Regions from separate parts of the Homo sapiens genome. Here all the other regions are linked to region 3. The links are contacts of gene promoters, found by promoter capture Hi-C in human tissues and cell types (Jung and others, 2019). All regions are on one chromosome and are shown on one strand. The core of a region is centred on a gene start or on the middle of the fragment in contact, and the rest is flanking DNA. Distances in the headings are between cores, read along the strand shown.

Region 1 (4,042 bases), core at 1,168-3,667, 330 kb after region 3:
AAGATAATAGGCGTGATTGCTTGAGGCATAGGACTATTTAGATAATAAAATTTAATGTTTTTATATTCATCAGAATTAGGAACTAAATAGCCATTTTAAAAATTATACCTATGCATGGAACAGTGGCTGGCACATAGTAGTAACTCAAAAAATACTTCTAGAATGAATATACAGAATACAATCTGATCTACAATATGTGGTCAAATTGAGTCTTACAATAACCATAATCAAATATTATGTCTAATGTTTTAAGTTTACCAAAACTGTTTTGTTTATTTCTAAAGATCTTTATTTTCCTGTGGTTTTTAATGACTAAAAGAAAGTTTTAAGCCGAACACAGTAGCTTGCGCCTATAATCTCAGCTACTTAGAAGTCTGAGATGGGAGGATTGCTTAAAGCCAGGAGTTCAAGACCAGCCTGGGTAACATAGTGAGACCCTGTCTCTATAAAAATAAATAATAAAAAAGAAAGTTTTAGATATGTTGGTGATTGTTTTCTAAACATACTTAAACTTTTAAACTTTGAGGGGAAATTGACCATTTCTAGACTTCTTATCAAGAAGTTATTTAAAATTTTTCAGACAAAAACTAGATTTGGAGCAAATGTTATATGTAGTTTTGCACTGGCATGTATTATTAAAACATGAAATTGAAGTTTTGGGTCACTGGAGTAAATTTCCTGTTTCTTATGCTCAGTGAAACATCCCCATTCTTTTTTTGCCCCCCCGCCGAGTCGGAGTCTTGCTCTGTCACCCAGGTTGGAGTGCAGTGGTGTGATCTTGGCTCACTGCAACCTCTGCCTCCCAGGTTCAAGCAATTCTCCTGCCTCAGCCTCCCGAGTAGCTGGGATTACAGGTGCCCGCCACCACACCTGGCTAGTTTTTTTGTATTTTTAGTAGAGACAGAGTTTCACCGTGTTGGCCAGGGTGGTCTTGAATTCATGACCTCGTGATCCACCCACCTCAGTCTCCCAAAGTGCTGGGATTACAGGCATGAGCTGCTGCACCTGGCCTCCCCTTTCTTTTAAATACTCTTTCTAGAGCTATACTGAGAATCTTGCAGAAAATCGGAAGTCTTTAGGATACTGTTCTTCTCATATCATAGTGTGCCACATGTATTCCTGATTTTTGTCTTCTTTTCATATTTTTACTATGCAGAAATTTCTCGTTGCCTTTTGATTTCTCTGAGCAAACATTCATCTAAAAATCATCCACTGGGGATCTACAACCTACTTTGCCAGATACTTATATTGTGCCAAATGCTATGTTTCTGGAGACTTTTTGTTTGTTTTTTTTATAGATTATAAAGCTTCCTTTTAGAGTTTCAAATAAGTGGGAGCAAATATAAGGATGCATAAGCCTGCAGAGGATTAAAGAAGAAATAGGATATCTTTGAAATTAGTTTGAATGCCAGAGTTTAAAATTTTAAAGAATAGCTCAGATGTACCAGTTAAGTAACAAAACAAGCATTTTAAACCTACCATGTGAATGATCTTTGGAAGGCAGCTATGCTCATCACTGTACCACCAACACATCTAGTGAATAATCTTTGAACTAAAAATGTAATATTTCTGGTGCTTTTTATTTATTCATTTTTTTTGGAGTGGAGTTTCGCTCTGTCACCCAGGCTGGAGTGCAGTGGCACGATCTTGGGTCGCTGCAACCTCCGCCTCCCGGGTTCACGCGATTCTCCTGCCTCAGCCTCCAGAGTAGCTGGGATTACAGGCGCCCACCACCACACTCAGCTAATTGTATGAGACGGGGTTTCACCATGTTGGCCAGGCTGATCTCCAACTCCTGACCTTAGGTGATCCACCAGCCTGGGCCTCCCAAAGTGCTGGGATTACAGGCATGAGCCACTGCGCCCAGCCTTCTAGCGCTTTTTAAATTTGTGAACAATTGAGGAAAGAGATAATTTGCAAGTGTTTTTCACCAAAATACTCTCTTACAATTTAGAATTACATTAACTTCAATTGGAAGTCATCTGCATACTTGATATGCTCAAATGAAAAAAATATTATAACTAAACAAGATAGTGTTTTAAAAATATGCTCCTCAGAGCATAAATATGTTAATTTTTTAACTTTCTGGGCATAAAGTTATTGACAGCTATTTTCAACTCATTTACTTTGTCATATAACCTCACTGATTAGCTACTTTGGGACTTAGCTTCTATAGGATAAATGACAGAAATCACTATTGCCCATTGTTACTGCCTTTATGGCATATCAGCTACAGGGTGAGGAATATTGTCATATATCAGCCAATTCCATAAAAAAGTGTATAAGGCCTTTGGTTATCTTGCTTAACTCTAGTCCAAGATGCCCTTCGTTTAAGGTCATTTCTTCCCATTGTTTCTTAAATGTCTCTCCCTCTGTCTTAGTTTTAGACTAGTTTCATTATACTACCAGTTTCTAATATGTTGGTTTTTTATTCACTATTTGATATATTTGTTTTAATATATGTTCTTGTTTTAGCAGGTAAAAGAATCATAACAAATGTTTTTAAAAGAACATTATTATTCTTTAATAACTGTCTTTTTATGCATTTTGCATGCCAACTTTTTTCATTAACATCTTGGGTATTTTATAAAAAGAGGGAAAGCTCAATGTTTAACAGTAGCTTTTCTAGGAGCTAAATTAAATATTAACAATCTCCTTCCTTCACCTTCCCATCCCTCAAGAATGGTGAATATCTTAACTTTGGCCGCATCCTTGAAAGCTTATGGTTATTCATAGTCTAACAAAACTAGGGTCACCAAACTTGGCAGCAGAAATAATCTAGTCTTACTGTGATAACTACCCAATTACTTTATTATTTTTCCAGTTGCAGTTCAAAATGTTTTGTGGAAATATTTTTTGCTGTTTGTGATTTTCAAAGCTTAGAGGGGAAAACAAACTTTCCAGTGTTGGAGAGCACTGAATAGTTTATGAATTGTGTAAAAGAGTCAGATTTCAATGCAATTATCTTTTCCTAGACATTTATCCAACATTAAAAACCTATGATTATAAAAAGTAAAGGCTTAAAGTATATTTCAACCACAGCTAGGAAATGTAAAGTTAAATCTAGCTTGTGTGAGTTCAAACCCATCTAATTTGTGTAAATTCTACAGATTTTAATTGGTGGCCAGTTTTCATAAATGGTGCTTAAAAATTGGTGCTGATAGCATAGATAGTTATGCCTCTGTTATCCAGATAGTTTCAGAATTGTTTCCTTATAAATGTCAATGCAAGTTTCTTTATTTTAAAATAACAGCTTTTAGGTTGGGCGCAGTGGCCCATGTCTGTAATTCCAGCACTTTAGGAGGCTTAGGCAGGTGGATCACTTGAGGTCAGGAGTTCGAGACCAGCCTGGCCAACACGGTGAAACCCTGTCTCTACTAAAAATACAAAAATTAGCTGGATGTGGTGGCGCACACCTGTAGTCCTAGCTACTCGGGAGGCCGAGGCATGAGCATTGCTTGAACCCAGGAGGCAGAGGTTGCAGTGACCTGAGATCGTGCCACTGCACTCCATCCTGAGTGACAGAGTGAGACTCTGACTCAACAAACAAACAAACAAACAAAAACCAAATAATAATAAGCAATAGCTTTTATAAAGAAAACAAAACCCTGTTTCTTAAATTTCAGTTGTGGCCCACAGACATCATTTGGTTCTTAGGATACTTGTTTTCTCAGCTCTTGTATAAACATTAGCCTTGTAACCTTAATAGATAATTTATTCTGTGTCTGGAATAAAACATACATGTTATTTCCTTATGTGTGTTGTGAAATTGATCAGCACACCTGTACATATAGATTGATACTAATGTAAGTAAATGGAAAGCCAATGGTCAAGCTCCCCTTAAGTGGTATGGAGTTTCTAAGTGACATCTTGAACTCACTAAGAAAAAAGTATGACAAGGACCTTTGATGCATACTCATTTAATTTTACGTATTACATTTTTAATGTGATTATGTGGTCATTTGAATGTGGACTTTTTTAAAATTGGTGACTTTCACATAGTTGACCGCCAATTTTAAACTTAAAAAATGTATATGGAACC
Region 2 (3,581 bases), core at 752-3,251, 500 kb after region 3:
TTTTTTTTTTTTTTTTTTTTAAGAGACAAGGTCTCACTCTGTCACCCAGGCTGGAGTACAGTGGCAATCATAGCTCACTGCAGCCTTGAACTCCTGGCCTCAGTCGATCCTCCCACCTCAGCCTCCCAAGCAGGTGGGACTACATGGGTGGCTAGTTTTTTATTTAGAGAAAGGGTCTTGCTGTATCGCCCAGGCTGGTCTTGCCTGGCCTCAAGCAACCCTACCACTTCAGTCTCCCAACTAGCCAGGATTACAGGCCTGAGCCACTGCAGCCACTGGTCATTTTAAAAGAAGTAGTTTCCATTTTTACCCTATGCTAACAGGATCTGTTCGGTTATTACAAGAAACCATACAAGCTGGTACAAACTGGTCACACTGGAGCTTTCTCAGACAAATCCCATAAAAATCATCAATAACACAGCAGTCACTTTAGCATTTTCCAATACTATCTTCAAAGTTCTTTTCACATCTATTCTTCCATTTGAGTCTTAAAGAAACCTCATGAGGAAAGGAATCTGTACTGACATGTAAAAAAAAACTCAGAAAAGGTGAAAGATTTTGCCTGCACAGAGTTACAGAGAGAGTGTAAACAATGCCAGTTGCAGAACCCAAGTCTTCTGATGCCCAGCCCAAGTCTTTTCCAGTTCACCCAGAGAAATCTTGTGCCTCCCTTGATGCTTCCAAAGATCACAATGCTACAAGGTGAGCCTCCCTGGGAGAGCTGCTCTTTACAGGGGGCTCGGTAGGAAGCAGAGGCAGGCAACAGGGCTAGGTCTTCAGTCAGGCCTGGTGAACAAACAAGCGCTACTGGTACAAAGAAAGGGGCAGGCAAAGCTAGATTTGATTTCGGTCCAGTATCAGCTGAAAACAATTGAGGATTGCATGGCGGTCAATGACCCCACTGTTCAGGCAGCGTGGCAAAAGACACTAGGAGACTTTTTAACATTCTTAGCCATGAACATTCTTAGCCCTGTGAACAACAAAAACAACAACAGTTACCCAGATCTGAGGATCTTTCATGGGACCCGAATTGAGGAGTAGGTGGGAGTAGGGACAGAATCTACTCTGGTGTTTTTGCTCTCTGGTCACCTGCTGCAAACTGACAGAGCACAACACTTGAATTCACTGACATCCATTTTCTTAATCTCAAGACACTTGCTCAATCAGACAAAAGGAAAAAGAAATCCTTCTCTGATGGGAAACTAGCATTTATCTATTATATACAAAGAGATTTTAAAAGCCCCAGGAGAACTACAAATAATCTCGAAGCTCAGATGTGCTGAACAGAAGTCTAACCAGAAAACCTTCTACTCATCAGCACTTCAGAAATTATCACAGGAGCAATGTTCAGAATCTCACAATAAGTTTATTAAAAATGTAATTCAAGAAAGTACCAACAGAAAAGAATTAATACGTTTTCTTCTCTCACTACATCCCAATGTAACAACAAAACCTCAAACTCCTGCAGAACATGGTTACTTATTGATTCCATTTTCTTTTTTCACTCTCAGACATAAATATAAACAAAATTTCTACTGTGGAAAAACATCTTCAGGGGACTTTTAACCATGATCTCTAGCACAAAGGGCTTGTGGCTTGTTTTAATGTCTCTAAGCTACTTGACTAGTTTCTCTTTCACTGAGAAAACTGCTACAAGTATTTTCTGCTGCATCTGCACTGCAATGCTAAGTTTCAAGTGCCAATGAGCTTGTGATTTATTCTTTATTTTACAAAAGTATTTAATCAGCCTCAGTGTTACTTTGAAAGCTTCTCCCTGGACAGGCGGCCCAACTTCTAATGTTATGAATGGGCTGGAAAAGCCTCTACTTGAGTTTTTAAAGGATCACATCCAATAGTAAATGTAACCGAACTCTAAATTCCAACCTATAATTGAAATTATTATTATTATTGAGATGTAGTTTCTTTTCTTTTTTTTTTTTTTGAGACGGAGTCTCCCTCTGTCGCCCAGGCTGGAGTGCAGTGGCACAATCTCAGCTCACTGCAAGCTCCGCCTCCCAGGTTCAGGCCATTCTCCTGCCTCAGCCTCCCAAGTAGCTGGGACTACAGGTGCCCGCCACCACGCCTGGCTAATTTTTTGTATTTTTAGTAGAGACGGGGTTTCACTGTGTTAGCCAGGATGGTCTCGATCTCCTGACCTCGTGATCTGCCAGCCTCTGCCTCCCAAAGTGCTGGGATTACAGGCGTGAGCCACGGCACCCGGCCAAGATGTAGTTTCACTCTTGTCGCCCAGGCTGGAATGCAATGCCACGATCATGGCTCACTGCAACTTCCACCTCCTGGGTTCAAGCAATTCTCCTGCCTCAGCCTCCTGAGTAGCTAGGATTACAGACGCCCACCACCATGCCCAGCTAATTTTTGTATTTTTAGTAGAGATGGGGGTTTCATTTAGCATGTTGGCCAGGCTGGTCTCGAACTCCTGACCTCAGGTGATCCACCACCTTAGCTGGGATTACAGGCGTGAGCCACTGTGCTCAGCCTATAATTGAAATTAATAAAAAAAATTTTTAAACTAATTTAAAAACTTTAGGAATACATCCTCAAAAGACTCCTCTGGTTTTTAAGAGACTAGGAGCAAATCATTTCTCCAGCCCTATAAAAGGCTTTGTGAAAGCAGCAGACGCTAAAAAGAGCAAGGGTAGTGATACATCCCATTTGGTGATTTTTTTTTTTTCTCCTTCCATCCCACTCCACCTCTGTTAACCATCTGTGGTAGATTAGATTATTATTCAGCCAATATTCACTCCCTCCCCCAGCCTGGCCAAGGGAGGAATACACCTCTCTCCAGTGATGTTATAGGCTTGGCTCTGTAGTTTGCTTGGCTGCATGGTGGTTGCAGTCTACTACCCACTCCTAAGTCTTTGGGCATGATCATGTGACTTGCTTTGGTCAATGCAATCTTAGCAGATGTGGCATAACCAGACATTTGAACTATGCTTATGCAGTTGGCCTTGACTTCTTGTACTTCTGCTGGTGCCTTGAGAAAAGCTTATCATGGATAGCCACTGCCCCTTCAGCCTGGGCCCCAGAATAAGGCATACAAATAAGAACTGCCCTCACCGATCCACACATCTACCTACAAGGAAGCAGAGCCCTGAGTGAGAATACATGCTCTGAACTGCTGAGTTTGGGGGAGGTCTGTAATGTAGAGTTACTATAGCAACTTGTTTTTAAATAATGGTTATGTTGGCTCAGAAAATGCAATAAAAACGAACAAAGACTTAGAATCGCAAGTCCAGAATCCCTTATCTGTAACTTTTAGGACTAAATGTGTTTAGAATTCAGATTTTTTTGGATTTTGTAAAGGTACTATGCAAATGCCAGAAGTTATATAATGCCCCTACAGGGTCTTAGAAGCAGAAAAGCAAACAAATTATTAAGCTATAGTGAAACAAATGAATAGTTTTAAATCACATTAAAAAAAGAAAATAAAGACGATAACTAGGCCAGATTTTGCTGTTAAATTAGTTATAAAAAACCTTGGCCAGGTGCAGTGGCTCGCACCTGTAATCCCAGCACTTTGGGAGGCTGAGGCGGGTGGATCACGAGGTCAGGAGTTCGAG
Region 3 (3,880 bases), core at 1,027-3,526:
TCCCGAGTAGCTAGGACTATAGGCGCCTACCACCACGCCTGGCTAATTTCTTTTTTTTTCTATTTTTAGTAGTGATGGGGTTTCACCATGATAGCCAGGATGGTCTCGATCTTCTGACCTCGTGATCCGCCCACCTCGGCCTACCAAAGTGCTGGAATTAAAGGTGTGAGCCACCGTGCCCTGCCCCAATATTTATTTTTCAAGAGAAATTGGAAATCTTGGTTTTAATGTGAAATATCATCATTTGAAGACATTGTCCTGAAGTGGCAGGTCATAAGGGGGAAAAAAAGACACTGAAAGATAAATTTTTTTAAATTGAAATACTATGTGGGTCAATATTTCTGGAGGGACCCAGGTCTGCTAGTTTGCAGACTAAGCCAGTTCTAAATACAGTCATGAGCTGCATAACAAGTTTCAGTTAACAACCAACCACATATAAGACAGTGGTTACATAAGATTGTAATACTGTAACTTTTCTATGTTTGTTTGTTTGTTTATTTGAGACAGGGTCTTGCTCTGTTGCTCAGGCTGGAGTGCAGTGGTGCGATCTCAGCTCACTGCAACCTCCACCTCCCAGGTTCAAGAGATTCTCATGCCTCAGCCTCCTGAGTAGCTGGGATTACAGCCACTCGCCACCATGCCCCGCTAATCTTTGTATTTTTAGTAGAGGCGGAGTTTCACCATGTTGGCCAGGTGGATCTTGAACTCCTGACCTCAGGTGATCTGCCCGCCTCGGCCTCACAAAGTGCTGGGATTACAGGCCTCTGGGATTACAGGTGTGAGCCACCACACCCTGGCCGCTTTTCTATGTTTAAATACACAAATACCTTGTTTCAACTGCCTACAGTATTCAGTATAGTAAAATGCTGTAAAACTTTGTAGCCTAGGAGCAATAGCCTACACCATCTGGTTTTTGTAAGCATATTCTATGATGTTTGCAAGGCAAAACTGCCAATAATGTGTTTGTTAGAATGTATCCCTGTCATCATTAAGTGACTTATAACTGTACTGGTTCTGATTCTCTATTTGAAGATTTTCAACAATCACCATGGTTCATACTTTCATAAATATTTAGGTCTGAGCCTTTCTTCACCTGAATATAAACCTAGGTTCCAGAACTTTTAACTTTCCTTGGCAGTGATTTTCAGCTAACTGCTTGGGGAACAAAGTAAGGAAAGCAGGGGGGAAACTACTTTTTAAAGAGTGGTATTTCATCTTGTTGAGGGCAGGCATGACTTCCTCATCATTTCCATCTCCTGGGCTCAATTTCTGCCCACTTATATAGCACTGGAATCACAAAAAGAAGACAAGTAATTATGCTTCTTCTTCATAAACATCTCTATCCAGTAGGACATCACATACTTTGCTCAATAGCTCTGGCTGGGTCTGCAATCCTTTTCAAACGACTAGTTAGAACTACCAAGTATGTAAGCAAGAGAGTGAACACATCAAGTAAGAGTTGAGGAGCATCTCTAGGTAAAACCATTACTTCATAAAGAGCTCTCATTGGATAGACAGCTGGTAGATTTCAAACCTAAGGCAACAGCATTTCTCAGTGTGGTGGGATGCCCTCCAATTTTATAATCACTTGAGGTGTGTTGTCGAAATGCACATTCCTGAAACCCCCAATCATATTAAAAATTCACAATCTGCATTCCAACAAGCCCATACCTATGCATACTGAAATTTGAGAATCACTGCTCTAATATATCCATCAGAGTGTGCTTTACAGTGTCACCTAATAACTGCCCTCGTAGTCATTCAGAAGGCAACCTGGGTACATCACAGGTTACGAAAACTGCTGCAATCCGTGTTATACAGAACCCTCTGGTAACCAGCCCCTCCCTGCATCTCGACGGGGGGGTCACTAAAATTACTTCTATGTAAAGAGATATCTTTATCTACACTCTCCTTCCCATCACCCTTCCCACTCCAATACGCTCTTTTTAGAGAATTTCCTGCTCTTCGCCCTCCCTTTTCTCCTGTCTGAGTCCCTCCACCTTAACCCAACCTCCGATCCACCCCAGGCCGCCCTCACCACAGACCACCCCCGGCCAGGGCTTCTCTTTCGCCTCGGGCCCCTGACTCCACAGAGCTAGCGTCAGCTACCGGCTCCCTTCCGCTGTTCAAGGACCCCCAGACCCTCAACACTCCACAGTCACCCTTTTCCACTCCCAATCTTCTCTCAGCTTTGGCTACGCGGCCCGAAAGGTACTCACCATTCCGGCGGTTGCTACTGTCACTGCTCTGGTTGCTAGGGCCCGCGGGGTCAGTGCGCGTGCGCACTTCTCGGCGCTCTCGGCGGAAGCCCTATCCCCGGCAGCGGTCCTTTCTCTCCGCCCTCAGGGTGGTGCGAGCGGGGCATTGTGGGACTGCGTGGCGGCCGCCGGGGTCCTCCCGTCCGGCTGTTGCTGGCTGCCCTTTTGCTTCCTTAGGTCTTAACCCCGCACAGGAGTAGTCAGGACCGAAAGCAATTTCAGCTGATCTGTAGTGACTTGTCCGCCTAAAGTTAAAAACCTTAAAACGTCCCCCTAACAACTACCCTTTTCATAAAATAATGTTCTTAATTCCTTTGCCCTAACGATGGCGTTTCCCACCCTTTTCCGGACGAGGGGAGAATAAGCGGCTTGCTGTAATTTCCCTCTCCATCCCATCCCACTGAGAATACCAGAGCCAAACTCCACCCATTTTATGTTTCTTTACCCCGGATCCTCCAGGGAGCCAGAGGCAGCTGAAAGCTCGGTTCCACATTTTAAATATCACAAATTGTTGGTTTTAATCACCAGGGTGTCTTTTTTTCCCCACCTACCAAATGAGCTAAAAATTATTAACAATAATAATAATTCATAGAGTTGCTAGGGGTATGGTGAAGTAGGGACACACAAATACGCTGCTGTTTATAATTGATACAGCCTTTCTGGAAGGCTGTTGGCTGTTCAAAAACTTTTGCACCCTTTGTGATCCAGCAGTTCCACTTCCAGGACTTTATCCTGAGCACAGAGATGTATGTTCAAAGCTTTAATAGAAAAAAAAAAATCAACTCAATTATCAACAAAAGAGAATTGGTGGCCGGGACTGGTGGCTCACGCCTGTAATCCTAGCACTTTAGGAGGCTGAGGAGGGCGGACCACTTGACCACTTGAGCCCAGCCTGGCCAACATGGTGAAACCCCGTCTCTACTAAAAATACAAAAATTAGCCGGGTGTGGTGGCACGCGCCTGTAGTCCCAGCAATTCCGGAGCCTGAGGCACGAGAATTGCTTGAACCCGGGAGGCGGAGGTTGCAGTGAGCCGAGATCGCGCCATTGCACTCCAGTCTGGGCAACAAGAGTGACACTCCGTCTCAAAACAAACAAACAAACAAACAAAAAGAGAGAGAAAATTGGTTAGTAGTATTGAACATCCAATGCAATAATGTACTTACACTAAAAAAGTACAATTGACTTGCTGAAAGGCATCTATTCACATCCAAAGATAGTCATATTTCAAGTAAAAATAGAAGTTACCAAACAAAATAGTTGGTACGATTTTCCTTTAAAATTATACATAGTGGCCTGGTGCAGTTTGTTCATGCCTGTAATCCCAGAAATTTGGGAGGCCAAAGTAAGAGGATCCCTTGAACCCAGGAGTTCAAGACCAGCCTGGGCAACGTAACAAGACCCTGGCTCTGTAAAAAATAAAAATTAGCGAGGCATGGTGGTACAACACCCATAGTCCCAGCTACTGGGGAGACTGAAGCAGGAGGATCATTTGAGGAGTTTGAGGCTTAGGTGAGCTCTAATTGTGCCATTGCACTCCACCCTGGGCAACAGAGCCAGACCCTGTCTCTAAAACAAAAAACAAAGCAAAAAAATGGAAAAGTTATACATAGTACACACACG
Region 4 (3,772 bases), core at 399-2,898, 420 kb after region 3:
GAAAATTGCTTTCTGGGAAATCGTCCCTGCTACACAGACACACAGACCAACTGGCAATGCTGCCACCACATGTCAGGGCTCAGGGTGGACCCAGCACATCCACTAAGAGGCACCCTGCTGCCCAAGGCTGTGGGAGACAGCTTTGATGTTCAAGAAAGGGGTTCATTTCAGCACCAGGGTGCTTTTTTATATGCAAATCTGAGGTGTTTCCCGTTAGAGGAGAGGACTATGCAGATGATCACATGCAGATGTCTCTGAGCTGTGAGCCCGATGACAGCTTTGTTGGTACACTCTGGCCAGCCATTTCACAACGCACTATGAAGAGCTGAAACCTCTGTTTTTAATCTCTTGTGTTGTGGGAATTTAAAGAGGTGAGAAGATCACAAGGATCACTTCTAGGCTCAAACTTATGATTATATGATAGTTTCCAGCCCAAGGGCAAAACCAAATGTCCAATTTTCACGTCTCCTTCCAAATTCAATGTTGGAAGGCAGGTGAGGAGGTGAGGAGAAGGGCAGGTCAAACTGTTCCTTATAGACATAACAGCAAATTTAGAGAAGGAGTACTTTACTGAATGGATTGATTTCTGAATCAAGTCACTTTTATAACACCAATGTATAAGCCCTCAGTAATGGTAACTGTTAAAAGTGGTTATTTGACAAATACCCAATATTTTAGAGAAGTTAAAGAAAGATGGCATATACCAGAAAACAAGAGATTATAACTACATTCTGAGAATTTATCTTATTCATCTTTGCATCCTCAGACTCCAGAACCTACGGGAACACAGAAAACACTGAACAAATTTTTTCATAGTGGTTTCTGAGCTCTTTTTCTTCCAGGGTTAGATCACAAATGATCAAATATACAAAGCCTTGGGGGTTGGGATCAAAGGCTTCCCGCAGTCATCTAACCCTGGGAGACCTTATTTGGTAGTTAAACTTATATTTCACACTCTACAAGTTATATCGAGAATACATACACTGTCTGAGGCCACGTAAATAACAAGTAATAAACATCATCTGTTTGGGCATCTATTGCAAAAGGAGGGTTTTTAAAAGCAGAGAGACTACAGAATGGGAATCCCGGAGTCTGAAAGTAAAAACACTGCCTCTTCAGTTGTTGCTTCTGTAGTAAAATCAACAAATTGCTTACTTATGACTGTTTTCTTCCAAGTTGCTTAGAAAGCTTCTACTTTTTCTAATTGAGAAATTGAGTCATTTGGAGTCAGAGCTGTGATTCTAGGAACACACACGAACCTACTGAGAACCAAAAACAGGAAGGTGAGTCTTTCCTCTCTGAAAAAAAATCTGCAAATCTTCCAAATATGATTGGTATTCCCATAGGCATGTAATGACATTCTGTCCATAAATACCCTTTATTCTGTAGCCCAGTCAGACTCAGACTCTTAGTGGCTACTTTCCTTCCTTACTGTCTTCCATCTTTTTATTAAGCAGATTGGCTTGGCTGGTCATACTCTACTGCTGGTTTTGCCCGACTCTATAACCACCGCCTGTCCCGTGTGAGTGAAGGCACATCCTTATGGAAATTGCTACTGTTCTTTCCAGTGACAATCTATTTTTCATGGTGGAAGACTAGCATTTGGATGTTTTAGGAATGACTGAACTAATTCTAAAAAGAATGTTTGAGGGAAAAGTTCTCTGCCTGAGATGAATGATTTAAAGAAATAAGATGGGCTGTAGTCTCAGCTACTCAGGCTGAGGTGGATTACTTGAGCCCAGGAGTTCAAGTCTAGCCTGGGCAACACAGCAAAATCCTGTCCTTTAAAAAAAAAAAAAGGAAAGATAGGTTCTCTGTACACTGTCTAACAATGTGGCTGAGATGTGGCTCAAACTTGGAGAAAGAGACAGAATAATTGCCATCTTTCTACACAGGACAATCAGTAATACATAGGATGGATTTAAATACACACACCCCACGTACCCTCTTCAGAGAAGAAATGTATCATGAAAGGTGCAACACATTTGGGATCCTTACACAAATAAATTACTCTAGATTAGGGATCCCTCAAGAATGCTTCCAATCACAAATTGCTATTCAGGTGGCTTTGCTGTAGCTGTGCTTTCTCAATGATAATACCCATGCTAGCACATGTCTGAGAGAGGGAATGAATCTTGGAAGAAGGGATTTCATGGAAAAAAATGAATTGAGATGATAGAACCTACTACTTTAAATCCCCCTTTCTTTGCATAGCTCTTATTTTTCCTGTCTGTGACTGCCTAATATAAGCCAATTTTAATTTAAATTCAGATCAGTACTCGCACACTACTCTTGAAGTTAGGTTCTTATAAGAAATATCCTGGGACAGAAAACAAATATTCTAAACACCAAAGACAGCCCCAAACCAGGTCATATCATATCATAGATTGGGAGAGAAAACAGCAGGCAAAAGAAGAAAAAGCTGGCCCCTCCTCAGCCACAGGAGGAAACTAAGTTTCTCATAAACGCTTACGGTCTGATCAGCATAGCTAAGGGCTCTCTGTGGTAAAGAAGGTTATGCCCCACAAGCCTTTGTCCAGAGGTGCCCTGAGCCCACACAGGCTGATGGCTGTTTGTGTGTTTTGCCTGACTGAGCTGCCCAGAGCCTGAACTCCATGGTAACTGCAGCAGGCACCTCCACTGCCCAGTTCACACAAAGGTACATTGAGAGGAAAGGTAACGCGGGCAGAGACCACAAAGCACCCATTTGTGGAGCTGACGAGAATAACCTGAAACTCCTCCTTGACATCATTAGCTCACTGTATCCCCTTCGCTGCTGGAGGCCCCTTCTCTTTCCCCTTGGCAGTTGGTTCTCCTTCTGCCACCAGGTTCTCCCACAGCTCACCAAGTTAAATATGGCTTTCCCCAACTCTTGCTTTGTGTTGATACAACTAGTTCATAATTCATCAACCACCAGCTTTTGGCTATTTGTTCAAATTCTGAGCTACTGTGTGGCAAAAGCAAAAACAAAATACCAGGACAGAAAGTGCTTCAACAGCCATTTTACTCTTCTTTAATTCTACCGTCTTTGGGCATACATCTCATTTGCTGTGGAAGAAGGTCTGACAGCAGGGCTGACAGCACCGATTCATAACACATTCTTTTCATCATACAAAGAGTAAGACCCTAGAATAATGGGACCATCTGCTACCACGACAGAGCTGCCTTACTGGCTGTAGAAAAAGACTGCTTGTGTGGGAGAGAAGAATGAGGACAGAGGAGGCATCTGGGGCAAGTGAGCGTACAAGTATGTCTACAAATTCAGAATTTGGTGGAAAATCCAAATTTGACTTCAACATGATAGAGAATTGATGAGAAATAGCTGTACTGTTTCCAAAATTTACTGAATTTGGAACCTGAGGTTAAAACTTTTAGGATAAAGCAACCTCAGGTTCAGACTGGCCTTGGGAAGAAATGGCAATCACAGACGGTAATGAGTGTCAGTGCTTGAGAAGAAGAATTGCCAAAGGCAATCTACATATTTGACTTGACTCAAAGAGAGGGGAAAACAAGTCTCATTTAAAAAGGATGAGTCTGCAGCAAAAAATCAAAGGGAAGCTGGAACCCCTGCCCACCTCTCCATTCCCCATTCTGCTGCTGGTGCCTGCTCTTCCTCACAGTACCTCCTGAAAAGTTCAGAATTCAGTTAATACAGAATTATTGGGTTGATTTTCAACGTGTAGTTTAAGATGAAGAGTTCCGTTTGGTTTAAACCACTTCACCTAACCTCTTGGTAACGGTAGTCCTGAGAGTTCGCAGTGTCAGTGAAATC

The links. Contacts are between HindIII fragments. The study calls those that stand out against the background at their distance.
Region 1: a contact is called between a fragment that was not itself captured here and the fragment with the promoter of DNAL1 in region 3, in 1 of the 25 tissues and cell types used here (dorsolateral prefrontal cortex).
Region 2: a fragment that was not itself captured here is called in contact with the fragment with the promoter of DNAL1 in region 3 in 2 of the 25 tissues and cell types used here (IMR-90 fibroblasts and lymphoblastoid cells).
Region 4: a fragment that was not itself captured here is called in contact with the fragment with the promoter of DNAL1 in region 3 in 1 of the 25 tissues and cell types used here (lymphoblastoid cells).

The regions. Positions count from the first base shown.
Region 1 is chr14:73,316,819-73,320,860 of GRCh38, reverse strand. The region is part of intron 5 of NUMB (NUMB endocytic adaptor protein); the gene reads left to right. Among named protein-coding and RNA genes, the nearest start is that of PAPLN-AS1, 73 kb to the right of the region's middle. The HindIII fragment of the contact is 4,846 bases long and covers 1-4,042 here.
Region 2 is chr14:73,140,428-73,144,008 of GRCh38, reverse strand. The region is part of intron 1 of PSEN1 (presenilin 1); the gene reads right to left. Among named protein-coding and RNA genes, the nearest start is that of PSEN1, 5.7 kb to the right of the region's middle. The HindIII fragment of the contact is 5,314 bases long and covers 1-3,581 here.
Region 3 is chr14:73,643,382-73,647,261 of GRCh38, reverse strand. DNAL1 (dynein axonemal light chain 1) reads right to left here and starts at 2,276. Exons shown (of 8, transcript NM_031427.4): 1 at 2,220-2,276. The coding sequence starts at 2,222. The HindIII fragment of the contact is 10,054 bases long and covers 1-3,523 here.
Region 4 is chr14:73,219,618-73,223,389 of GRCh38, reverse strand. PSEN1 (presenilin 1) reads right to left here. Exons shown (of 12, transcript NM_000021.4): 12 at 1-3,772. Among named protein-coding and RNA genes, the nearest start is that of PAPLN, 16 kb to the left of the region's middle. RefSeq lists an enhancer at 1-455. The HindIII fragment of the contact is 9,247 bases long and covers 1-3,772 here.